3 separate regions of the Homo sapiens genome follow, and all the other regions are linked to region 2. The links are contacts of gene promoters, found by promoter capture Hi-C in blood cells and fetal thymus (Javierre and others, 2016). All regions are on one chromosome and are shown on one strand. Each heading gives the region's core, a stretch centred on a gene start or on the middle of the fragment in contact. The rest is flanking DNA. Distances are from core to core; before and after follow the strand shown.

Region 1 (4,525 bases), core at 1,628-4,127, 220 kb after region 2:
TCCGCAGGATTCCCCCATGACCCTCCCGTGGTCCCCGCAAAATCTGAAGAGACGCGGGGCTGCAGGCGCGGAGCTGCCCAGAGAGGGCTCCAGGGTCGGGGCCCACAGTCGCCCGCGCAGGAACAGAACAGGAGGACGCCCGGGGTCCCGGCTGCCGGCCCAGCCGCACCCTGCGGCCGAGGGGACGCAGGGACGAGCTGAGACAGAGGGATTCGGGTCCCAGATCCAGGAGGCGCGGCGAGGAGGCCCAGATCCCACCACAGCCGCTTCCGGCCGGTTCCACCCAGCCCCTCCCCCGTCTGGGGACTCCGGCCCCATACACTCACCATTTCCCGGCTTCTGGGTGTCCCGGTGTCCTCTCTAGGGCTCCCGTGAATAGTGCGGGTCACGGTGCAGGCGGCAGAGCGACAGAAGTTGTGGCAGAGGGACCCGGGGCCTCTCGGAGTAGGAAATCTGGTATCCCGACAACAACCTGCATAGCAACAAAAGTAGAAGCTGGAATGGGCCTCCTCCTTCCGGACGGACCGTTGGCCGGGCTCCGCCCCGGCGCTTCTGATTGGACAAGGTACAAGGCCCCGCCCCCTCAGAACTGAGTGACGGCAGAAGCCCTGGGTAACGAGCCCTGCAAAGCCGGACTGATCGGTTCTAGCCACAGCTTCTCTCTAAGGGACAACTCCTTCCCTGAGCCCTGGTCATTGGATATTTTCTTTTCAGCCAAATTTGCTCCTGATTTTTACACAGGGCACTATCTTCTTCCTCATTCAATGGGCTGTCAGTGCTTCTTCGTCCTGCACAGGGTTGTAAGTGTGTGCAGGGAATTCCAGACTGAGTGTCCAATGGAGCGATGTGCTGACCTCAGAGCAGGAAGGGGAGCCCAGATCAGGCCAGGCACGACTGCACCAAGAAGGAGAGGCAGTTGTCCTTCAGGGGCCCGGAATTAGGGATGAGACATGGCCAAGGCTTTCACACATCTCACCCCACCTCACAGTGTGGAAACTCTCCCTCCTTCCAGACCTTCATCTTCATCGGCAGAAAACTCTCACTTGGTGATTTTAAGCTTCTGACCTAAATAAACTGTCAACTGCATAAGCCCCTTCTCCAGGAGAGGTCCCAAACAGTTATTTCCCTGAACTTGATCTTTACGGATTTTCTTCAGATATGCAAATTACAGTCTGACCCCAGGGACTCTATGCATGTCAAACCCAAAACACTGCTCCCGAAAACCGCCCCAGATTCCAGATGTACAGCCGCAGAAAGGACAGAACTCCTGAAGTGCACCTGCACGTGGGTCTCCTGCTTTCCAGGGCGCTGCAGCATGTCAGAACCCACACTCTTTCTGGATCTGCTCTGAGCAGCTGCAAGCCACCTGCAGGGGAGGGCGGCTGCCCAGGAAGCACCCAGAACTCCACTTCACTCCTTGGCAGGATCCATACTAGCCTCAGCGTCCCGTCCCTGGCGTCGGTCTCTGCTGCCCCCTGCAGGTTATTCACCTGCTTCTCACATCATTCATCAGTTTCCATGAGACAAACATCCTCAATCCCACTGCGAGAATAACACACGAGCAAAGCTCTCCTCCAGTGTGTATGTATAAAGTCGAGGAGGAAGTGTCCAAGATTATTTAACTGCATGAAAGTGAGGCAGTAGTGGCTGGGCGCTGTGGCTCAAGCCTGTAATCCCAGCACTTTGGGAGGGCGAGGTGGCTGGATCACCTGAGATCAGGAGTTGGAGACCAGCGTGACCAACATGGTGAAATCCCGTCTCTACTAAAAATACAAAAATTAGCCGGGTGTGGTAGAGCCCACCTGTAATCCCAGCTACTCGGGAGACTGAGGCAGAAGAATCGTTTGTATCAAAGAGGCTGAGGTTGCAGAGAGCCGAGATTGCACCACTGCACTACAGCCTGGGCAATAGAGCGAGACTCTGTCTCAAAACAAAACAAAAAAACACACAAATGTTTAGTCATGTTACTTATTTCTGGTTTCCAGCCTGACTTTATAACATTCCTGACTCTGGGACTCTCCAGCTCTCCAGAATTATGCTTTGAAGAAAAAACAAGATAGAGCACAGGGCCCACATGTCTCTTATAAACTGTGAACCAAAATATTACATAGCAGCCATCTGTCAGAACTGCTTCCAGGCTATTGTCCTCAGTCACAATCCTAAATCAAACTCACTTTCTTTAACAAATTTAATTTTTTTTCTTCAGTCCACATGAGTAATCTAAAAGAAACACATAGACAGAAGAATCTCTTTATTATCATCTTTCTACCAAGTCAACATCAAGCATTAAAAAAATGTAAAACAAAGTGAAAACCATCCTTCTCTGATTCATCGTAGACCCAGAATCTGCCAGTCACCAACACCTATCTTCATTTTCTCTATTACGGCCAACTTTTATCTAAGAGATATCATAGGGGCATATTTAATAGAGTTTGTCATTTTGTGTTTTATGAATTTTAGAGGTTTTTTTGTTTTGTTTTGTTTTGAACTTTTATTTGCATTTTCTTTTGGCTGAATTTGTTTGTCTCTTAAGTTTATGTTTCTTCTGGGGTATCTTTTTCTTCCGTGCATCCTCCTTTTCTGCTTTTGGAACAAGGTGTTTCTTTTCACTAAGCATCATCTGGATGTGGCAGGGGAGTTTGTGGATGGGTTCATCTGCCCATGAGTTCTGTAAGTCAGGTGGTACATTATGGGTGCCTTTTCCCTGGATGTGCTCAATAACCAGGGAATCTACATCTATACCCTTAAGTTCAGCATAACTCTGCACTTGTAAGCAAATTTCAGTACCTTTTCGGGGCCACTGATGGTGAGTCCAGCCCCAATGTCTGTCTTGCGTACAGCGACCAACTCCACTTTCTAAGACTGAAATGGTACACATAATTTCTGTAAAAGAAAATATTTCAGATACTTGGTGGCTTTTCATATAGGCATACCTGTGATGGCCTGAGCACCTTCACAGTTTACAGTGAACATGAGGGTTTCATCCTTCTAACATGCACGACTTCGTGGGATTTTCTGGGTCATAGTGAATAATGTTCATAGATCAACTCAGGCCACACAAGAGGACAGGTTTTCTTTGGTCTTTAAAAGGAACTGATTAAAGAAAAAAAAAAAAAAAAGGTGGAAGCCAGGCACAGCAGCTGGTACCTGTAGTGACAGCTACTTGGCAGGCTGAGGTAGAAGGATTGTGAGCCCAGGAATATGAAGCTCTCATGCACTAAGATCACACTTGTGAATATCACTGCACTCCAGCCGGGTCCAAACAGCAAGACCAACTCTCTAAAAAAAAATTACATAATAAAATAATTTAAAAAAAAGTTTGTGGTTAGAAAAAAGTTTTTATTTAAGACATTCATTAAAGAAAAAAGTACTTTGAGAAGAGATTAGGGCCAGGCGTGGTGCCTATAATCCCAGCACTTTGGGAGCCCAAGGTGGCAGATCATGAGGTCAAGAGATTGAGACCATCCTGGCCAACATGGTGAAACCCCATCTCTACTAAAAATACAAAAATTAGCTGGGCGTGGTGGCGCATGCCTGTAGTCCCAGCTACTCAGGAGGCTGAGGCAGGAGAATCTCTTGAACCTGGGAGGCGGAGGTTGCAGTGAGCCAAGATTGCACCACTGCACTCCAGCCTGGCCACAGAACAAGACTCTGTCTCAAAAAAAAAAAAAGATATTAGGCCTGGCGCAGTAGCTCACACCTGTAAGCCCAGCATTTTGGGAGGCTGAGGCAGGTGGGTCACTTGAGGTCAGGAGTTCAAGACCAGCTTGGCCAACATGGAGAAACCCGTCTCTACTAAAAATACAAAAATGGCCGGGCGCAGTGGCTAACGCCTGTAATCCCAGCACTTTGGGAGGCCAAGGCAGGTGGATCACCTGAGGTCAGAAGTTCGAGACCAGCCTGGTCAACATGGTGAAACCCTGTCTCTACTAAAAATACAAAAATTAGCTGGGTGTGGGGGCACACGCCTATAGTCCCAGCTACTCAGGAGGCTGAGAAAGGAGAATCGCTTGAACCTGGGAGTTGGAGGCTGCAGTGAGCCGACAGCACACCACTGCACTCCAACCTGGAGCAAGACTCTGTATCAAAAAAAAAAAAAAAAAAAATTTGAAGGCTGGAAAAAGATTAGAAGGCCGGGTGCAGTGGCTCACACCTGTAATCCCAGCACTTTGGGAGACACTGGTGTGGGTCACTTGAGGTCAGGAGTTTAAGACCAGTCTGACCAACATGGTGAAATCCTGTCTCTACTAAAAATATAAAAAATTAGCCTAGCGTGGTGGTGGGTGCCCGTAATCCCAGCTACCCGGGAAGCCAGGAGGTGGAAGTTGCACTGAGCCGAGCTCACACCAACACACTCCAGCCTGGGCAACAGAGTGAGACTCTGTCTCAAAAAAAAAAAAAAAAAAAAAAAAAAAAAAAAAAAAGAGTTTAGAGGCTGGGCATGGTGGCTCATGCCTGTAAAGCCAGCTACTCGGGAGACTGAGGCAGAAGAATCGCTTGAACCCAGGAGGCAGAGGTTGCAGTG
Region 2 (4,703 bases), core at 47-2,546:
ACCTGCAGGGGGCAGCAGAGCCCAAGGCCAGTGATTCCACGTTGAGGACAGTCTCTGCAGCCTGCAAAGGGAGGGAAAGAGAGTTTCCCTGGGGGCTTCGCGGGCAGCCCACCCCCTTCTACAAGTGGCCTCCAGCTGCTCAGAGCAGCTCCAGAAAGGGTGTGGATTCCGAGAAGCTGCAGAGCCCTGGAAAGCAGAAGACCCATGTGCAGACGCATTTGTGGCGTCTCTGTCCTTTCTGGTGTTGTACCTCTGGAGCTGTCTTCTGGGCAGGGTTTGGGGTTTGACATGCATGGGGTCGTTGGGGTCAGAGTTATTTGTATAGATAAAGAAAATGTGTGGCCGGGCGCGGTGGCTCACGCCTGTAATCCCAGCACTTTGCGGGGCCGAGGCGGGCGGATCAAGAGGTCAGAAGATCGAGACCATCCTGGCTAACACGGTGAAACCCCGTCTCCACTGAAAATACAAAATATTAGCCGGGCGTGGTGGCGGGCGCCTTTAATCCCAGCTACTCCGGAGGCCGAGGTAAGAGAATGGCGTGAACTCGGGAGGCGGAGCTTGCAGTGAGTCGAGATCGCACCACTGCACTCCAGCCTGGGCTACAGAGCAAGACTCCGTCTCAAAAAAAAAAAAAAAAAAAGAAAGAAAGAAAAGAAAATGTGTGAAGATCAGGCTAGAGCTAGAGACAGAATTGTTTGGTGGCGTCACCTGGATAAAGGGTTCATGAAGTTGACAGTTTACTTAGGTCAGAAACAAAACCTGGTGAGAGTTTCCTGCTGGTGAAAATGAAGATCTGAAAGGAGGAAGCATTTTCACAAGGGGATGGGGGTGTGTGAGCAAGGCTTGGCCACGCCTCATCCCCAATTCCGGCCCGCTCGAGGACATATGCCTCTCCTCCTGGTGCAGTCGTGCCTGGCCTGGTCTCGGTTCCCCTGCTGCTCTGAGGCCAGCAGTTGGCTCCTATGGACACTGAGTCTGAAATTCCCTGCACACTCCTGTGACCCCGTGCAGAACGAAGGAGCGGGGACTGTCCCTTGAGTGAGGATGACGCTAGTGTTCTCTTCTATCAATAGCAAGTTTGGCTGAAATGCAAATATCCAATAACCAGAGTGCAGAAAGCAGCTCGCCCTTAGAGAAGCTGTGGCTAGAATCCGTCAGTCTGGCTCTGCGGGGCCTGATACCCAGGGCTTCAGCTGTCACTCAGATGTGGGGGGCGGGACCTAGTATTTCATCCAATCAGAGGTGCTGGGGCGTGGCACTGCCCACAGTTCATCCGGAAATGGAGGGGGTCGCTTTCCTCACCTTCCTCGCTGCGCGGGCGGCGGTTGGTAACCGGTCAGACCAGCCCGAGAGGGACCTGGTGCCTGTACCCAGGCTTCTGTCGCTCTGTCGCCTGCGCTATGCCCTGCTGTAGTCACAGGAGCTGTAGAGAGGACCCCGGTACATCTGAAAGCCGGGAAATGGTGCGTGTGCGGGACCAGATGTCGTGAGACGGGGGAGGGGCTGCCTGGAACAGGCGGGAACCGGCTGTGGCGGGACCCGGGCCTCCCTGTGGGCGACTCCGGGGTCTGGGACCGAGTCCTCCTTGAGCAGTTCGGCCCTCGGTCCCCTTGGCCGCTGGACGGGGCTGGGCCAGCAGCCAGGACCCGGGCGTCCTGTCCCGTCCCTGCGCGGCGACTGCGGCCGCGGCCCCTGCCCCGGAGCCCTCTCTGGGCAGTTCCGCTCCCGCAGCCCCGCGTCTCCCCAGATTGTGCGGAAGCAACGGGAGGGTCATGGAGGCATCCTGACTCGGGTGTGGGGTTCGTGCGTGGGAGGAGCAGTGGTCTGTGGGGCCCCCAGTCCCCACTTTCTCCTGTTAAAAATTAAACTGAGGTACGTTAACAATTAAAGAGTTCATTTGAGCAAACAGCGATTCACGAATGAGAAACACCCCGTCCTGGGTTGTGGTTTGTCAACGGAAAAAGCCAAACTATGTAAAATAAAGAAGTTTATTCAGAGCCGAATAGGAGAGACCTTGGCCGAGGGAAACACAACCCCAAGCAGCCTGGAGTAAGTGGTCCCGAGGCGGCTCAAGACAGTTTGGTTTTATTCATTTCAGAGAGACAGGAATTGCAGGGAAAATGATGAATCAGTGCCTGAAAGGTGTAAGTTCCATTGGCAGAAAGGGTGGGACCTGTGGAAGGGGGGTTAGAAGGCACAGGTGGTTGAGGGATTCTGTAGGTGGCAGCTGGTTGAGAGTGTGAAGTTTGTCTAAAGTTTGGAGGAGGTAGGAAGGAAGGGGGTCTGTTATCTGCCACTTGATTCCATCCCAGCCAGAAAACAGACCTGTTTCTCTAGATTTTATGAATTCTGAGGCGTGACTTTACTTTTGCCTTGCGTGGCCTTAGGTTTTGTTTGTAAGTTAGTATCTTCTTGCCACAAGCAGTCTGTTTTTCCATTCTATCTATTTTTACATGAATGTGTGGGAGAGGGTATAAGGAGACCTGTCTCACCTCCCATCCTGTCATACAGAGGCACTCAATTTTCAGGGTTTTTTGCGGGTCCTGTTGGCCAAGAGCCGGTCACTTCACTTAGCTGGAAAGGTACTTTGTTTTTATTTGAGACGGAGTCTCCTGTCGCCCAGACTGGAGTGCAATGGCCTGATCTCGGCTCACTGCAACCTCCACCTTCCGGGTTCAAGTGATTCTCCTGCCTCAGCCTCCTGAGTAGCTGGGATTGCAGGCATGCACCACTATGCCCTCCTAATTTTTGTATTTTTAGTAGAGATGGGGTTTCACCATGTTGGCCAGGCTGGTCTCGAACTCCTGACCTCAAGTGATCCACCCACCTCAGCCTCCCAAAGTGCTGGGATTACAGATGTGAGCCATCTCGCCGGGCCAGAGGTATGTTTTTATTTTTAGTTTACCAGTTTAGGGGTAAGCTTTTATAAGTTACGTGAGGAGACAAACCAGATAAATGCTTGATTGGTTGCAGAGATGCAGTTGCCTTATTTGGACTTGTCACTCCGAAATAATAGAAAGGTCAAGATTTCAGTTGGAAGAGTTTATTCAAGCGGAAGGATAGCAGTGGCCCATTTGGGAAAAACACAGACTCTAGGGAAATAGACTCAGTACTCCAAAACTGGAAGTTAAGTTCTTGCTTGTATTACCAGGAAAAGAGGTCCTGATCAGACCCCAGGAGAGTTCTTGAATCTCACACAGGAAGGAATTCAAGACGAGTCACAAAGTGCAGTGAGAAGAGAGTTTATTGAAAGCTACTCTGGGCCAGCATGATGGCTTAGGCCTGTAATCCAAGCACTTTGGGAGGCCAAGGTGGGAGGATAACTTGAGGTCAGGAGTTCGAGACCAGCCTGGGCAACATAGTGAAACCCCATCTCTTCCAAAACTAGCAAAAATTAGCCGGGTGTGGTGGCCTGCACCTGTAGTCCCAGGTGTTCAGGAGGCTGATGTGAGAGAATCACTTGAACCCCAGAGGCAGAGGTTGCAGCCCAGCCGAGGATGTACCACTGCACTCCAGTGTGGGTAACAGAGTGAGACCCCATCTCAAAAACCAAAACAAACAGGAAAGAGGTCAAGACCAACCTGGCCAACACAGCGAGACCCTGTCTCTATTTAAATAAATAAATAAATAAATAAATAAATAAATAAATAAATAGAAAAGGAAAAAGAAAGAAAAAGCTTCTCTGTTTCAGAGTAGGGCATCCTCATACAGCAAGTGGAGGAACGTACTGTCTTTAAGTTTTTCTTATGTAGGGATCTTTTCTATGTAAAGAATAAACTACCTGTGCCTATGTGCATGTGGGCTGACAGCATCACAAAATTTATTACTCTGTTGATTTAAAGAAAACTATCCTTTACATTTTAGCACCCAAGTGCATTAAAACATAACTATAATTATCTTGAAAGCACATATTGTTATAGGTATTGGGACATCAGGACATTCTATTGTTGTGGGAGTGTAAGGATACTTGCAGGCATCTTCAGGCTGTTTTCTTCATGGGAAACATTTTGTGATCATGGGTTGTGACTGACAAGGAGTGTTTCTTGTTAGTGTCAAGATGGAGCTGAACTTAAATTGGTGTTACTCTGGCTCCCCTAGGCACCTGCTTCCCTAACACTTGTATAGGCAAAAGGCAAATAAATGTAACAGGATTATGTTTTCCATAGAAGGCTGATGTATGAGATACAACAATTTTTTTTTTTTTTGAGACAGTATCTTGCTCTGTGACCCAGCCTAGAGCAGTGGTGCGATGATGGCTTACTGCAGCCTTGACCTCCCCAGCTCAAGCACCTCCGCCTCTCAAGTAGCTAAGACTACAATTGCCCACCAGCACACCTGGCTAATTTTTTATTTTTTACAGAGGTTAGGTCTCGTTATGTTGCCCAGGCTGGTCTCTGGCTCCTGGCCTCAAACAGTCCTGCTTCCTTGGCCTCCAAAAGTGCTGGGATTACAGATACAGATATCAGCCACTGCACCTGGCTAACAACTTAATTCGTAATGGTTTACTTTTTTCCCCCAGAGCTTGTTTTCTTTTCTTTCTAGCTGGTTTTTATTTCCTTTTCAATTTAAGAGTGAATTTAACATTCCATCTGAAGACAATCTGATAGCCATGAAATCTTTGTGTGAGAAAGTAGTCTCTGGGCCGGGCGCGGTGGCTCACGCCTGTAATCCCAGCACTTTGGGAGGCCGAGGCGGGCGGATCA
Region 3 (4,803 bases), core at 946-3,445, 240 kb after region 2:
CTCCGCCTCCCGCCCGGGTTCATGCCATTCTCCTGCCTCAACCTCCCAAGTAGCTGGGACTACAGGCGCCTGCCACCACGCCCGGCTAATTTTTTGTATTTTTAGTAGAGACGGGGTTTCACCGTGTTAGCCAGGATTGTCTCGATCTCCTGACCTCGTGATCCGTCCGCCTCGGCTTCCCAAAGTGCTGGGATTACAGGCGTGAGCCACCGCGCCCTGCGGGTTTATGAATTTAACAGTAAATTTAGCTTAAACTGACTCAAGTCGAGAGCTTCCTGTTGGTGAAAATGAAGGTCTTAAAGGAGAGAATAATTTCTAAACTGAGGAGGGGACAGAAGGGCATTTCAAACTCCCAGATAAATCCTTAATTTTCTCTGCCTCATCATCTGGGACTGACCCGCCCTGGGGGGCTCCATTTCAGCAGTCACAGTTTGGCTTCCAAGCTTGGAAATATCATTTACCTTCTGACAGAGGGTTTTCCTTGTGAACTGTGCATGAAGCAGGCTGCTTATCTGAACTACTTCAAATGTTTGCTTTACTTTTCTTTTGATTCCTTTATAAAATATTGCTGCCGGCTGGGCGCGGTGGCTCACGCCTGTAATCCCAGCACTTTGGGAGGCCGAGGCGGGCGGATCACGAAGTCAGGAGTTCGAGACCAGCCTGACCAACATGGTGAAACCCCGTCTCTACTAAAAATACAAAAATTAGCCGGGCGTGGTGGCACACGCCTGTAATCCCAGCTACTCAGGAGGCCGAGGCAGGAGAATCGCTTGAACCCGGGAGATGGAGGTTGCAGTGAACTGAGATTGTGCCACTGAACTCCAGCTGGGCGACAGAGCGAGACTCCGTTTCAAAAAAAAAAAAACATATATATATATATATATATATATATATATATATATATATACACACACACACTTATATATGTGTTTGTATATATACACATATATGTGTATATATACAAACACATATATAAGTATATATATACACATATATGTATATATATGTGTATATATATAGCTGCCATATAATTCCAGCTTTTCCATGCACTTAGTTTTATTCTGTTGTTGGCTTGTTGTTTTCTTGAGTGAAAATGAGTAGACTGAGAGATAAAGTATGAAAAATCTTTGGCTATCCCTCATCCCAAATTTATAATCTCTGACGACATCAGGCCTCTCTCCTCTTCCAGTGTTGGCCTGACTAGACCTCAAGGCAGACAACCTCCCCACCTCAAACCCCCTCCCCCCACCCCCACCTCCCCTGAAAGAAGGGCCCACTGAGTACAGGAAGACAACAGTGTCAGCTCTGGAAAGCCTGAAACATATTCTGAAATACCAGTATCCCCAGGGTGGGGGCCAGGCTGCAGTGCAAGGAGGAAATCCGGCTGTGGCTAGAATCTATATTTTTCTTTTCTTTTCTTTTCTTTTTTTTTTTTTTCGAGACAGGGTGTTACTCTGTCACCTAGGCTGGAGTGCAGTGCGCTGATCATAGCTAACTGCAGCCTCTACCTTCAAGGTTCAAGCAATCCTCTTTACTCAGCCTGCTAAGTAGCTGGGACTATAGTTGCAGGGCCACCAGGCTGGGCTAATTTTTTTTTTTTTTCTTTTTTTTTTAGAGATGAGGTCTCACTACGTTGCTCAAGCTGGTCTTGAACTCCTGGCCTCAAGCAGTTCTCCTTTCCAGCCCTCCCCGAGTCCTGGGATTGTATAGGTGTGAGCCACATGTCGGGCCTAGAACCTTTCATTCAAGCTCCACTCAGCCAGGTGTTAAATTCTCCTCTCACTCCGCCTCCCAGAAGGCGGGGCCCGTGGCACTGTCCAATCAGGAGGGGCGGGGGGGTGTGGCTGTGCAAATTGTCCAATCAGGCGCGGCTCTGGGAGGAGGCCGCGAAGCTCCATAAAACTGCGAGGCGTTCCTTTCACCCGCCCACAGTGGGTGTCAGGTCTATGCTGCTCTGAGAAGCACCAGAGGTGGCTTCGCTGCAGCTTCTTTCCAGCTGTGACTTGCAATGAACACGAAAGACATAAGGAGAACCATAGACACCTCAGAAGCCAGGAAATGGTGAGTGCTGGGGGGATGTCCCGAGACTGTGGAGCAAGGTGCTGGACAGGAACCTGCTGTGACGGGACCCAGGCCTGTCCGGGGCGACTTCGGGACCGGTGGACTGGAGTCCCCCTAGCGCAGCCACCGCGCCCGATTTAAGAGAGAATTTTCAATGGCTAAACTGCACATGTACATCTCCTGACACAGAGCACCTGGTGACAACCATCAACTGTGAAGGTCAGGGAGCTGCTGAAGCAGAAGAGAGTCCATATTTCATTAGTTTTTTTTTTTTTTTTTGGAGACGGAGTCTCGCTCTGTCGCCCAGGCTGGAGTGCAGTGGCGCGATCTCAACTCACTGCAACCTCTGCCTCTGGGGTTCAAGCAATTCTCCTGTCTCAGCCTCCCGAGTAGCTGGGACTACAGGCGCACACTGCCACGCCCAGCTAATTTTTTGTATTTTAGTAGAGACAGAGTTTCACCGTGTTGCTCTTGTTGCCCAGGCTGGAGTGCAATGGTGTGATCTCAGCTCACGGCAACTTCCGCCTCCCAGGTTCAAGCGATTCTCCTGCCTCAGCCTCCTGAGTAGCTGGGATTACAGGCACGCGCCACCACGCCTGGCTAATTTTGTACTTTTAGAGACGAGGTTTCTCCATGTTGGTCAGGCTGGTCTCGAACTCCTAACCTTAGGTGATCCGCCCGCCTCGCCCTCCCAAAGTGCTGAGATTACAGGCGTGAGCCACCGCGCCCGACCTTCATTAGTGGTTTTATATAACAGTTTGTTAATGTCGAAATAATAGTTTGCTGGCTTCTTCATTTTATCAAAGGAATAATTATTTGCCAGTTTTAAAATCCACTTAAAACTGTCTTGAAATTTTTCTCTTCTACTTTACGGTAAACACAGGAGGAAAGCAGGGACTCTGCTGGATTCTCTTTCGAACACTGGGATTGAGGGTGTTTGCCTCGTGGAACTGAACAATGTGGGTGAAAAGCAGGTGGAAAACTTGCAGGGGGCAGCATAGCCTGAGGCCGGTGATCCACACTGAGACTAATCTGGAGCCTGCAAAGGGAGGGAAAGGGAGCTCCCCCGATTGCTTCCTGGGCAGCCTGCCTTCCCCTGTAGGTAGTCTCCAGCTGCTCCGAACAGCTCCAGCTCCAGCTCCAGGAGTGTGGATTCTGAGAAGCTGCAGAGCCCTGGAAAGCAGGAACTTCACAGGCAAATGCACGTGCGGGTTTCTCTCCTTTCTGAGGTTGTACCTCTAGTTTCCCAAGGTAGTTTTCCGGAAAACTTTTTGTTTTTTGAGACGGAGTCTTGCTCTGTCACCCAGGCTGGAGTGCAGTGGCGCGATCTCGGCTCACTGGAACCTCTACCTCCCGGGTTCAAGCGATTCTTGTGCCTCAGCCTCCCCAGAAGCTGGGATTATAGGCGCCCGGCTAATTTTTGTAATTTTAGTAGAGACGGGGTTTCGCCATCTTGGCCAGGCTGGTTTTGAACTCCTGACCTCAAGTGATCCGCCCGCCTCGGCCTCTCAAAGTGTTGGGGATTACAGGCATGAACCACTGTGCCCGGCCTTGATTTTTCTATGTATAGAGTTGCTGCAGTCAGGCTGTAATTTGTATATATGAAGAAAATATGTAAAGATCATATTTAGAGACTCATTTAGGTAGCGTTCCAGAGAAATGGTTTATGAGCTAGAGAGGTTGGAATTTCAAGGGGCCTAAATTGACCACAGGTGAGAGTTTTCTGCTGGTGTAAATTATTAAGGTATTGAAGGAGGGAGCGTTCCCACATTGTGATGCTGTGACAGGAGGGCATGTTGAGCTCCCAGAGTTAAATCCTTAGGTTTCCTGCCTCATCATCAGGGTCTAATGTACTCTGTGGCTCCACTTCAGCAGTCACTGACTCTTAAGCTTGGGAATATGTTCTACCTTCTGAATTCATCTTTTCCTTTTTAAATGTTCTGAAGTGCCCTGCTTATCTGAGCTAGTTCAAATTTTCGCTTTACTTCCCTTTTGATTTCTTTACAGATTACGGAAATAGAACTTGTTTTTCCATGTATTTAATAATTTTATTCACTTGTTGGCAGTTTTTTATTTTCTTGGGTGAAAATGAGTAGATTGATTTGGGAGGCGAAAGTGGGAGGTTCACTTGAGGCTAGGAGTTCAAGACCAGCCTGGACAACAAACGAAATCCCGTCTCTACAAAAAATTAAAGAATTTGCCGGGCTTGGTGGCATGTACCTGTAGTCTCTACTACTCAGGGGACTGAAGCGGAAGGTTCGCTTGAACCCAGGAGATGGAGGCTGCAGTGAGCTATGATCATGCCATTGCACTCTAACCTGGGTGGCAGAGCTAGACCCTGTCTCAAATAAATAAATAAAGTAATAAATAAGTAAATAAAGTAATAAATAAGTAAATAAAGTAAAAAATAGAGAGAGATAAAGAGGTATGGTATGAGAAAGCCTTGGGCACGCTTCCCATATCCTCATCCCAAATTTCCGATCCCTGGGAATATCACGCCCTTTCTTCTGTTCCAGTCCTGCCTGGAACTCCCTGCGCACACCTGTGACTCCTCATGCAAGAGGTAGATGAAGAAATGACCCACTGAGTACAGGAAGTATCTCCTTTGGTAAACCCGGATTAAGTTCTGCTAAAATGCAAGTATCTCCCATCTCCCCATCCCCCGCAGACCAAGTACAGTGAAGGGGACGAGGGGAAGAAGTCCACCCTGCGTTTGAGGGCTGGGGCCAAGACCCCTCATTC

Evidence for each region. Contacts are between HindIII fragments. The CHiCAGO score rates a contact against its expected background, and 5 or more counts as called.
Region 1: a contact is called between a fragment that was not itself captured here and the fragment with the promoter of ZNF700 in region 2, in 17 of 17 cell types (total CD8 T cells, naive CD8 T cells, non-activated CD4 T cells and 14 more). The highest score is 23.8, in total CD8 T cells.
Region 3: a fragment that was not itself captured here is called in contact with the fragment with the promoter of ZNF700 in region 2 in 2 of 17 cell types (neutrophils and naive CD8 T cells); the score reaches 7.9 in neutrophils.

The regions. Positions count from the first base shown.
Region 1 is chr19:12,139,854-12,144,378 of GRCh38, forward strand. ZNF625-ZNF20 (ZNF625-ZNF20 readthrough (NMD candidate)) reads right to left here. Exons shown (of 8, transcript NR_037802.1): 4 at 2,788-2,862; 5 at 327-472. It overlaps ZNF20 (zinc finger protein 20), which reads right to left and starts at 497. Exons shown (of 4, transcript NM_021143.4): 1 at 327-497. The coding sequence starts at 329. It also overlaps the pseudogene RPL17P47. RefSeq lists a silencer at 74-283. The HindIII fragment of the contact is 3,645 bases long and covers 1,056-4,525 here.
Region 2 is chr19:11,923,811-11,928,513 of GRCh38, forward strand. It overlaps ZNF700 (zinc finger protein 700), which reads left to right and starts at 1,297. Exons shown (of 4, transcript NM_144566.3): 1 at 1,297-1,463. The coding sequence starts at 1,401. It also overlaps a transcript of ZNF69 not described here. RefSeq lists enhancers at 1-783, 940-1,512, 960-1,009, 1,060-1,169 and a silencer at 1,560-1,759. The HindIII fragment of the contact is 3,475 bases long and covers 1-2,918 here.
Region 3 is chr19:12,158,085-12,162,887 of GRCh38, forward strand. No RefSeq gene overlaps it. Among named protein-coding and RNA genes, the nearest start is that of ZNF136, 2.6 kb to the right of the region's middle. The HindIII fragment of the contact is 3,508 bases long and covers 442-3,949 here.